Linked DNA regions of Homo sapiens: regions 1, 2 and 3 are each linked to region 4. Evidence: promoter capture Hi-C in 16 types of primary human blood cells and fetal thymus (Javierre and others, 2016). All regions are on one chromosome and are shown on one strand. The core of a region is centred on a gene start or on the middle of the fragment in contact, and the rest is flanking DNA. Distances in the headings are between cores, read along the strand shown. Region 1 overlaps ELAPOR1 (endosome-lysosome associated apoptosis and autophagy regulator 1). Region 2 overlaps PSMA5 (proteasome 20S subunit alpha 5). Region 3 overlaps SARS1 (seryl-tRNA synthetase 1). Region 4 holds the start of MYBPHL (myosin binding protein H like).

What was found. The method cuts DNA at HindIII sites, captures the fragments that hold promoters and counts their contacts. A CHiCAGO score of 5 or more calls a contact.
Region 1: a contact is called between a fragment that was not itself captured here and the fragment with the promoter of MYBPHL in region 4, in 1 of 17 cell types (M2 macrophages). The highest score is 5.9, in M2 macrophages.
Region 2: a fragment that was not itself captured here is called in contact with the fragment with the promoter of MYBPHL in region 4 in 1 of 17 cell types (M2 macrophages); the score reaches 5.0 in M2 macrophages.
Region 3: a fragment that was not itself captured here is called in contact with the fragment with the promoter of MYBPHL in region 4 in 1 of 17 cell types (M2 macrophages); the score reaches 6.1 in M2 macrophages.

The regions. Positions count from the first base shown.
Region 1 is chr1:109,201,704-109,204,403 of GRCh38, forward strand. ELAPOR1 (endosome-lysosome associated apoptosis and autophagy regulator 1) reads left to right here. Exons shown (of 22, transcript NM_020775.5): 22 at 1,241-2,700. The coding sequence ends at 1,309. Among named protein-coding and RNA genes, the nearest start is that of SARS1, 11 kb to the right of the region's middle. The HindIII fragment of the contact is 3,218 bases long and covers 1-2,700 here.
Region 2 is chr1:109,420,779-109,423,478 of GRCh38, forward strand. PSMA5 (proteasome 20S subunit alpha 5) reads right to left here. Exons shown (of 9, transcript NM_002790.4): 2 at 1,082-1,148. Among named protein-coding and RNA genes, the nearest start is that of PSMA5, 4.3 kb to the right of the region's middle. The HindIII fragment of the contact is 1,938 bases long and covers 323-2,260 here.
Region 3 is chr1:109,225,302-109,228,001 of GRCh38, forward strand. All of the region lies in intron 2 of SARS1 (seryl-tRNA synthetase 1), which reads left to right. Among named protein-coding and RNA genes, the nearest start is that of SARS1, 13 kb to the left of the region's middle. RefSeq lists enhancers at 73-757, 758-1,442. The HindIII fragment of the contact is 7,808 bases long and covers 1-2,700 here.
Region 4 is chr1:109,305,675-109,308,374 of GRCh38, forward strand. MYBPHL (myosin binding protein H like) reads right to left here and starts at 1,337. Exons shown (of 9, transcript NM_001010985.3): 1 at 1,173-1,337. The coding sequence starts at 1,317. RefSeq lists enhancers at 855-1,594, 1,595-2,333. The HindIII fragment of the contact is 12,327 bases long and covers 1-2,700 here.

The DNA of each region.
Region 1 (2,700 bases), core at 84-2,583, 100 kb before region 4:
GCCTCCTTAGACTGCGATTTCTTTTTTTTTAAATGAATGGGAGAACAGTTCACCCTGGGACTCTTGAGTCTATCTGGGACTGCTAGAATTCAGCAAAGGTGCAAAGCAGGGGATTTTTAAGATTTTTGGCTCATGCCTGTAATCCCAGCACTTTGGGAGGCCCAGGCTGGAGGATCTCTTGAGGCTGGGAGTTCAAGATCAGCCTAGACAACATAGGAAGACCCCATCTCTACAAAATAAAAAACAATCAGCTGGGTGTTGTGGAGCATGCCAGTAGTCTCAGCTACTTGGGAGGCTGAGGTGGGAGGATCACTTGAGCCCAGGAGTTGGAGGCTGCACTGAACTATGATTGTGCCATTGCACTCCAGCCTGGGCAACAGAGCGAGACCCTGTCTCTAAAAAACATGTATTTATTTATTTATTTATTGAGACGGAGTGTTGCTCTGTCTCCCAGGCTGGAGTGCAGTGGCATGATCTCAGCTCACTGCAACCTCCACCTCCCAGGTTCAAGTGGTTCTCCTGCCTTAGCCTCCCTAGATGCTGGGATTACAGGTGCTTGCCATCACACCTGGCTAATTTTTTTTTTTTGTATTTTTAGTAGAGACAGGGTTTCACCATGTTGGCCAGGCTGGTCTTGAACTCCTGACCTCAGGTGATCTGCCTGCTTTGGCCTCCCAAAGTGCTGGGATCACAGGTGTGAGCCACTGTGCCTGGCCAAAAACATTTTTTTAAAAGAAAAAAATTTTTTTTTTTTTGAGACAGAGTTTCGCTCTTGTTGCCCAGGCTGGAGTGCAGTGGCATGATCTTGGCTTACTGCAACCTCTGTTCCCGGGTTCAAGCGATTCTCCTTCCTCAGCCTCCCAGGTAGTTGCGATTATAGGCGCCTGCCACCATGCCTGGCTAATTTTTGTATTTTCGGTAGAGACAGGGTCTCACCATGTTGGTCAGGCTGGTCTCGAACTCCTAACCTCAGGTGATCCACCTGCCTTGGCCTCCCAAGTGCTGGGATTACAGGCATGAGCCACCACACCCCGCCTAAAAGAAAAAGATTTTTATTGTTCTCCAACTGACCCTGAAGGGAGCAAGCAGAATAGAGGGTATCTCATTTCTGTGTTTCCACAAAGCCACTGAAACAGGAATTTCATAAGGGTTCCTTCTGTCACCTATTTTCCATTTCTCTCCTTTGTCCCCAAACTTGCCCCTGTGCAGCAGCCAGCTCCTGTCACCATCTCTCTTTCAGAGGACTCCTGATGGATTTGACTCAGTGCCGCTGAAGACATCCTCAGGAGGCCTAGACATGGACCTGTGAGAGGCACTGCCTGCCTCACCTGCCTCCTCACCTTGCATAGCACCTTTGCAAGCCTGCGGCGATTTGGGTGCCAGCATCCTGCAACACCCACTGCTGGAAATCTCTTCATTGTGGCCTTATCAGATGTTTGAATTTCAGATCTTTTTTTATAGAGTACCCAAACCCTCCTTTCTGCTTGCCTCAAACCTGCCAAATATACCCACACTTTGTTTGTAAATTATGCCCTTGCTTGTATCTTGTTTCCCAAAATGGCCCATCCGCCAGAGCCATAGCTTCGTCTGCTCATAATTCTTATAGCTTTGGAATGAAAATATTTCTATCTTCTTAAGTATAGAAACTATTTCCTCTGTCCTCTAACTTAAGGGCAGAAACAGCTGGGAGTTTTCCTCGCATGCCCTCAGCTCATGATCTCTTCAGGAGAGAGGCTGGGTGAGGAGGGTGTCGGGGTTCCCTGGTGGATAATCTTCATAGCAGCCTGGATCCATTTCCCCTGGATAACCAGCTCAAAGGGAGTGAAAATGGTAGTCTGAGGGCAAGGGGAGCAAGGCCTGGGTAAGAAAAGCCTTGAAAAGCATAAAAAGAGGCCGGGCGCGGTGGCTCACGCCTGTAATCCCAGCACTTTGGGAGGCCGAGGCGGGCAGATCATGAGGTCGGGAGATTGAGACCATCCTGGCTAACACGGTGAAACCCCGTCTCTACTAAAAATACAAAAAATTAGCCGGGCGTGGTGGCGGGTGCCTGTAGTCCCAGCTACTCGGGAGGCTGAGGCGGGAGAATAGCGTGAACCTGGAAGGCGGAGCTTGCAGTGAGCCGAGATCGCGCCACTGCACTCCATCCAGCCTGGGTGACAGAGTGAGACTCTGCCTCAAAAAAAAAAAAAAAAAAAAAGAAAAGCACAAAGAGAGGCAACAAGGAATGTTTTTGTTTTTGAGACAGGCTCTCACTCTGTCACCTAGGCTGGAGTGCAGTGGCATAATCACTGTTCAGTGCAGCCTCAAGCTCTTGGGCTCAAGCTATCCTCCCATCTCAACCTCTCAAGTAGCTAGGACTACAAGTGTGCACCACCAGGCTCACTAATTTTTATATTTTTTGTAGACACAGGGTTTCACCATGTTGCCCAGGCTGGTCTCCAACTCCTGGGCTCAAGTGATCTGTCCGCCTCAGCCTCCCAAACTGCTGGGATTACAGGCATAAGCCACTGCACTCAGCCTTTTATTTGTTTTTTAAACCACGTAGCTCATTGCCTTCTCTTAAGTAAATGATAGATATTCTCACTGAAGCCAAAGGAATAAGTTCATCAAGAAAATGCCCAAAGCCCTGGTGGATACATCCTCCCTATCTTTTTTTTAAACCTTCCACTATCACTCTATGACACTGAAAAGAACCAGGTA
Region 2 (2,700 bases), core at 42-2,541, 120 kb after region 4:
CATTTTTGATGGTCACAACTGAAAGAGTGCTACTGGCACCTAATGGGTAGTACCCAGGAATTGATAAACATGCTAAAATGTACAAGATGGCCCTCCACAACAAAGAATTATCCAGTCCACGCCAGGTGTGGTGGCTCACACCTGTAAATCCCAACACTTTGAGAGGCTGAGGCAGGAGGATCACTTGAGCCCAGGAGTTTGAGACCAACTTGGGCAACATAGCAAGACCACATCTCTACCAAAAAAAAAAAAAAAAAAAAATTAGCCAGGCATGGTGCACACATCTGTACCCTAGCTGCTAGGGAGGTTAAGGTGGGAGGAAAGCTTGAGCCCAGGAGTTAGAAGCTGCAGTGAGCTAAGATGGTGTCACTGTACTCCAGCATGGGTGACAGAGTGAGACCCTGTCTCTAAAAAACCACTAAAACAAATCTCTTATTTAGTCCCTAAGGTGACTTTACCAACAAGAACACAAAGGTGGGCTGTGCGTGGTGGCTCACGCCTGTAATCCCAGCACTTTGGGAGGCTGAGATGGGCGAATCATTTGAGGTCAGGGGTTCGAGACCAGCCTGGTGGTACTGGGAGGCTGAGGCAGGAAAATCACTTGAACCCGAGGGGCGGAGGTTGCAGTAAGCTGAGATCACGCCACTGAACTCCAGCCTGGGCAACTGAGAGAGACTCCATCTCAAAAAAAAAAAAAAAGAAAGAAAAAGAAAGAATACAAAGGTGGTCAGATACATGATTTGCTAAAGAAAACAAAACAGAAAAAGTAATACAGGTGCTAATTCTGGACTTCTGTACCTCTCTTTATAGCTAAGAGGATCAAAAGCACAAATATGTCCCTCCACCCCCACTGAGAAAAAGCTATTTAGATAATTATGAAGCAGTTAACTGCTCAAAAAGTTTTAAAATAGATATTAGGAATAGGATTGAAACTGTTATAAAAATGGTTAACAGTGGTTGCTTAAAGGGATATAAGAACATTTTCTAAAGGAATGGTTAAACCACATTTACTCCAAGTGTTCTGCCAGCAAAATGTTAGGTAGCCATGAAATTTCAGGACCTATGCTACTTGCTACTATACCTTGATAGCCTCAATGGCATATTCCACTTGAAATAATCTTCCTTCGGGAGAAAAAGTATTCACGCCCCTATAATTTAAAAAAAAATTATTAATTATACTCATAAAAACTAGCCATGTAGACACTGAATTCAAGTTCCTTGACAACTAGCTCAGATAGCTACAGAATACGCACATTGTCATTATTCTCTACTTCGCCCACAACAATCTGTAGCATTTTTTTGTACATTAACAGTTTCTCAAGGCAATGGAACCTATATATAGAACACTTCTGCCTCACTCCCAGAAAGTCTTCCCAAATTGATGAAATGAGAGCAAATGACTTTTCTGCCTCAATCCTGAATCAACTTGGATCCATTCTGAATAGACTTACCAGTTCCTTTGGTAAGTTCATGCCTCAAAACTATCAGCCAATTTCCAAGAAAATGTGCATTTTTCCTTATCCTCTTCCCATAACATGCATATGACGTTAATACTTGGGGTTATCACTCTTCTTTCCATTCTCAATGCCCTCATTACCTTTCACCTAACGTTTGTAATAGTCTCCTAACAGGTATTGACTCGTGGAGCAAGTAGGAAGAGTTTTCCCCCTAATTCAGACAATCTCTATAAAACACAGTTATTACTTTTTTTTTTTTTTTTTTGAGACAGAGTCTCGCTCTGTCGCTCAGGCGGGTGCGATCTCAGCTCACTGTAACCTCCGCCTCCTGGGTTCAAGCAGTTATCCTGCCTCAGCCTCCCCAGCAGCTAAGACTACAGGTGCATGCCACCACGCCCGGCTAATTTTTGTATTTTTAGTAGAGATGGGGTTTCACCATATTGGCCAGGCTGGTCTTGAACTCCTGACCTCGTGATCCACCCGCCTCGGCCTCCCAAAATGCTGGGATTACAGGCATGAACCACTGTGCCTGGGCCTAATTATTACTTTTTACTAAAAGTTAGTCACAGGTACATTTCTCTACTTATTTGTATGAATTACTATTGTTATCTTAACAGACTGAGATCCATGTAGTTCCTAATTCTAACCTAGTTCATTCACTCAATATTTATATAACTTACATGTCAGACTGCTTTCCTCTCTAAACACTTCCCCTTAACACTTAACACTTTCCACCTTTCCTTGCTCAAGTGTGCTGGAAATCCCTACGGAGAAGAGGCACCAATCATGGTCTCAGCTATAAAAGCTTTGAGCACACAATGGACACAAAAAATATGTGAACAAATGAATGAGATGGTTGCAATCCGTGGTTTATGGAGTCCAGACTTTACAACAGGTAACATGTCATATAGTAGTGCTTTTGGCCTGGCGTGGTGGCTCACGCCTGTAATCCCAGCACGTTGGGAGGATGAGGCAGGCGGATCACCTGAGGTCAGGAGTTCGAGACCAGGCTGGCCAACAAGGTGAAACCCCGTCTCTACTAAAAACACATAAATTAGCTGGGCGTGGTGGCAGGTGCCTGTAATCCCAGCTACTTGAGAGGCTAAGGCATGAGAATCACTTGAACCCAGGAGGCGGAGGTTGCAGTGAGCCGAGATGGTGCCACTACACTCCAGCCTGGGAGAGTGCTAAGCACAAGTTACTTCCAAATCTCTACTACCAGTTTCACCTCTTTCCTAACTAA
Region 3 (2,700 bases), core at 70-2,569, 80 kb before region 4:
CAATATTTTGTTACACTTTCAGCGTGTAACACTTTTAGCTGTGGAAAGTGATATTGATAATCATCCAGTTTCTTTCTGTGGGACTTAGTCATTCGCATACTAGAGGCCCCATAATTATGTTAATTCCCATGCATACTCCTCCCTGGGTGTTCTTTGGGACCTATGTACAGTCAGTGCCAGCTGGGTATTTTTTGAAGCAAGAAGATGGGATTGTGAGTGTTGTCATTCACAATAACATTCTTAGATCTGATTTTGTTGCTAGCCATGCAGGGAGTGTTCACTCCCACTGCCATTGAAATGGTAATGATAGTGCTTTAATTTGTAGAGCACTCGAAAGCATTCAGATACTTTCACAGACATCTTATTTTGGTTTTGATCCTTACTGCAGAGCTGGAGTGCAGATAGTACATTTGTCAGCCCTATTTAATGGGTAAGGGAATCGGCTTAGGAAATTAAAGAGCTTGCTTAAAATCATATTCTAACTTAGTTGCAGAGTCAAACCTTGAGCTCAGAACTTGAATTTGCTGCCCTGAGGGATTATCAAATAGCAAGGGAGCCTGGTAACTATCTTGCAAACATATCACCCTGCCTATGATGCCATTGCAAAAATCTTGAGATTTAGTCCATTTTTTCCCTACCTCTGTAGTCTGTTCTTATCAAGACTCATTCTGATAGTTTCAGATTTTTCCAACTTTTTTTCTTTTTTTCTGAGACAAAGCCTCATTTTATTGCCCAGGCTGGAGCGCAGTGGCACAATCATGGCTCACTGCAGCCTCAACCTCCTGGGCTCAAGCAGCCCTCCTGCCTCAGCCTCCCTAGTAGCATGCCACCACACTCGGCTAATTTTTTTTTTTTTTTTTTTTGTTGAGATGGAGTCTCCCTGTGTTGCTACTGCACCTGGCCAGATTTTTCCAACTTTTTAAGATGATTTTGCTCTGAGTCACTGAAGGGTGTGAGTGGAGTTATGGTTAGAATTTTGATTGTATGAGAATGTGTAATGAACCTAAAGGATTTCCATGCTTTACATTTAGGAGATTTAGTCCTTTTGTTCTTTCTTTTTTTTTTTTTGACACAGTGTCTTGCTTTGTTGCCCAGGCTAGAGCGCAGTGGCGTGATCATAGCTCACTGCAGCCTCCAACTCCTTGGCTCAAGCAGTCCTCCCACCTCAGCCTCTCAAGTAACTAGGACTATAGACACATGTCACTGTGCCTGGCTAATTTTTTAAAAAGTCACCCAGGCTGGAGTGCAGTGGCACAAGCATAGCTCACCACAGCCTCTAATACCTGGGCTCAAGCAGTCCCCCCGCCTCAGCCTCCCAAGTAGCTGAGACTACAGGTGTACTCCACTATGCCTGGCTAATTTAAAAAAAAAAAAAAATATATATATATATATATATACACACACACACACACACACACACACACACATATATATATATTTATTTATTTATTTATTTATTTATATTTAGATATGGGGTCTCACTCTGCTGCCCAGGCTGGTCTTGAACTCCTGGGCTAAAGTGATCTGCCCACCTCAGCCTACCATGTAGCTGGGATTACAGTTGCAAGCCACTGTACCTGGCTATACTTTGTTTTATTTATACTCACAAAGCGGATGCTAAATATTCTTATGCAAGTTTTGTTGAAGTCTCATGTATCTTATTATAATGACCTTTGACTAACTTTCTTTAACTCTTTTTTTTTTTTTTTTTTGAGACAGAGTCTTACTCTGTCACCCAGGCTGGAGTGCAGTGGTGTGATCTCAGCTCACTGCAACCTCTGCCCCCAAGTTCAAGCAAGTCTCCTGCTTCAGCCTCCCGAGTAGTTGGGATTACAGGTGTCTGCTACCGCGCCTGCCTAATTTTTGTATTTTTAGTAGAGACGGGGTTTCACCATCTTGGTCAGGCTGATCTTGAACTCCTGACCTCGTGATCCACCCACCTCAGCCTCCCAAAGTGCTGGGATTACAGGCATGAGCCACCGTGCCCTGCCAACTCTTTTTAATTTAAGAAGAATTTAACTCTTTAAGTGATCTTTTTAAATTCACCTGGTTTTGTGCAAGGATTACAAATGATGATTTAGCAGAATTATCATACGGAAGGATGAGAAGAGAAACTAGAGAGAACGAAATCCAACCCTGGTTACACCCCTGCCATTTTGTCAAATTACATTGATTGTTCTAAACTGAGTTCCAGATCCTGTGACTTTTTGTTTGTTTGTTTTCCTTGGCTGTCTGATATTTCATCATTCCATCCATCTTTCACCCTTAGCCTCAATGCTGGGATTGTTGTTAGCAGGTAGATAAGAATCTACACTCGGGGCCGGGTGCAGTGGCTCACGCCTATAATCCCAGCACTTTGGGAGGCCAAGGTGGGGGATCACTTAAGGCCAGGAGTTTGAGATCACCCTATCCAACAGAGTGAAACCCTATCTCTATTAAAAATACAAAAAAAAAAAAGGAAAAAAAAATTAGCCAGACGTGGTGGTGCACTCCTGTAATCCCAGCTGCTTGGGAGGCTGAGGCAGGAGAATCACTTGAAACCGGAAGGCGGAGCTTGCAGTGAGCCCAGATCACGCAAACTGTACTCTAGCCTGGGCGACAGAGTGAGACTCCGTCAAAAAAAAAAAAAAAAAAGAATCCACACTCAGGTGTGTCTGCTCCAGGGCTTGCTCCTGAGCACTGCACTACCTCTCCAGCGCT
Region 4 (2,700 bases), core at 87-2,586:
CTTTTGCTCCCTTCATCTTCAACGGGACAAACTTGGCCAGCTCTCTGCCCTTGACATTCAAATAGTTTCTGGAAACCTGGCCTCTCCCATGAGGATAAGAGGCAGACAGAGTCTGCTGCACAACCCTATGGAGGTAGAACGCAGCCTTCACCTCTCACTTGGAAATATTTGATCATTTATTTACATCTTAGTTTGGCCTCTTCCAAGGCACCCTGGATCATCTCAGCAATCCTTTCAACTACCCTGATAGGTAGATGTTATTAATCACCATTTTACAGAGTGAAAATGGAAACTGAGCAGTCCAGTGACTTGTCCAAGGTCACAGGGCTGTTAGAGGCGGCACTAGGAATTGAGCCTAGAGCTTTGCCTCCAAGTCTAGTATATCTTTTCCCCTGCCTCTTCCTGCCCTAGGAGTCCACGTGTTTCTTGATTGTGGTCTTTTCATCCTCTTAAGACTTTCAGGTGAGCGCCACGAAGTGGTTAGCTACAGAGGCCTCAGCCAGGGCATTCAGGGATGGGCGGCAGGAAGCTCGGGGTTGGAATTCCTCACTTGGGAACGCCTCTTTGCTGAGAGGCACACAGAGACCATCGTGAAGGGGAAATTGAATGCTTCTCCCAGGAGAGCTCCACTTCCGTGGAGCTCAGACTCTGAGGGGTCAGGATCTCCTATGGGAGCAGTGGGGGATTGGAGGAGGTCCTGACCCCGTGGTACTGCCCAGCAGGAGGCCGAGTGTCACTGTGCTGCCCCACTCTTAGCCTCCCCATTGCCATAGCATTTTATTTCCCTGTTCCTTCAGCAGACAGTCACTATCTCTTACCCCTCAGTCCCTTCCTGACTGGCCATTAGTATATCAGGTCTTCCCAGTCCCTATGACAATTTTTTAAAAGGTAAAAATATAAACAGATCATTTTTAGTCACTGTAAAGTGCCACCAACACCATCACTGACTTCTCAGCTAAAACACAAAAACTTAGCAGGGACATTTGAGCAGCAAGTTAGACTCCATCAAGGACAGGGGATGGGGGCTCTCACGAATGATCTCCAGCCTAATCACCAATCCTATAGAGTCTTTAGCTCTGCAGAAAACCTGAGGCGCCGTTCAGGAAGGTGGCGATGTCTTCCCCAACTCCCACCACCCGGCCTCCCCACCCTCCCCACCTGCCATGGGTCACCTTCTATAGGGGGCAGGAGCTGGGGAGTGGGGCTGCCAGCCCCCTGTCCAGGTGAAGCCTGGGGTGGTTCAGCATCCGCTGGGCTGGCTTCTTTCACCTTCAGCTTGGATCCTGCGGCCACCTCCGGAGCTGTGGCTGCCTCCATGCTGGGCCTTCCCAGAGGCTGAGCTCCAGCTCTAGATTTTCACTGCTGGTGATGAGGGAGGGGCTGAGCACCTGCTCCCAGGCTGGCCTCCCGGGTCCCAGCCACAGGGTTACGTAACTGGGCTGGCCCTCCCCACTCAGCTACGCCCAGCAGAAAGGCTGAAGTAGGGGTTGGGGGAGAGAGGAGGATCAGACAGCAGCCCAGAATAGCCCCAGGAGGACTGAGGTGTCCCTGTTATCTCGGGAGAGAGATGACACCCCCCACAGCACCAGGGAGGGAGAGCTTGAACACACCATCCAAAAGGGACCTCTAATTTCTGTAGGGAGGGTTGAGTGACATCTCTGCTCCTGACCTCCAGTTCATCCCGTGGGGCATTCAGGTCCCAAAGAAGGGGCCCAGGATTAGCTGACTCACAGCAACGCCTGAACTGCTCTTTCTCCCTCTGCTCCCACATTCAATGAATTGTAAAGTCTTATCAACTCGACCTTTACAGGGCCTGTCCCATCCTCCCCCGCTCCCCGGGGGCAGCGGGCACAGCGCAGTGGTAGGTGGAGACTGCACTCGCACTGGCTGCCCAGGTGCCACTTGGGGCTCTGTCACCAACTAGCTGTGTGACTCACAACACCTCACAGTCTCTCTTCAGTCTGTTTCCTCATCTGTAAAATGGAGATAATTATAACCATAGGGTCGTTGTGAGGATTAAAGAGGTAATCTCTGTAAAGTGCTTAGCAGAGTGTAGCCGACTAAGTGCTTGATAAATGTAAGCTATTTTTAGGTCAGGCCAGCACTTCCCCCTTTGAGAGCTGTCAATGGCTGCCTTGCCTATTAGATGAAGTACAAATAAAGGGAGAGGCAGCAGTGGTGGAGGGAGGCGAGCTCAGAGACCTGCGTGTGACTTCTGGCTGTACCACTCACTCACCAGCTGGGACTCTGGGCAAATGGCCGACTCGGAGTCTCAAGTCCCAGTCTATGAAACAAGGGATGATGCCATGATTGTGTTGAGGATAAAATGATACAATCTATAGGAAAGTGGCCAGCTCACAGCAGGTGCTAGTCACATACTACAGGTCCTACATGATTTCCAGACTTAGCAAACCATCTTTCTATACGTGTTGTACATGCCATGGACACTGCCACCTATCATACTCCTACCTTCTTATCTCCAGAAGCCAGCATCCCTCTGCATTTTAAAATGCTTTAATTTTAGAGCAGTTTGAGAGTCACGGCAAAGCTGAGTGGAAAGTATAGGGTTCCCACAGCCCCCTACTCACCCCTGTATTTTTTTCATGGAAAAAAAATGGGTGCAGTTGAACAAATGGACTGACTTCTTACTCATTTTTGCCTTCAATTTTGGGGTAATTGGTAAGATCCCAGGAGCCTGTG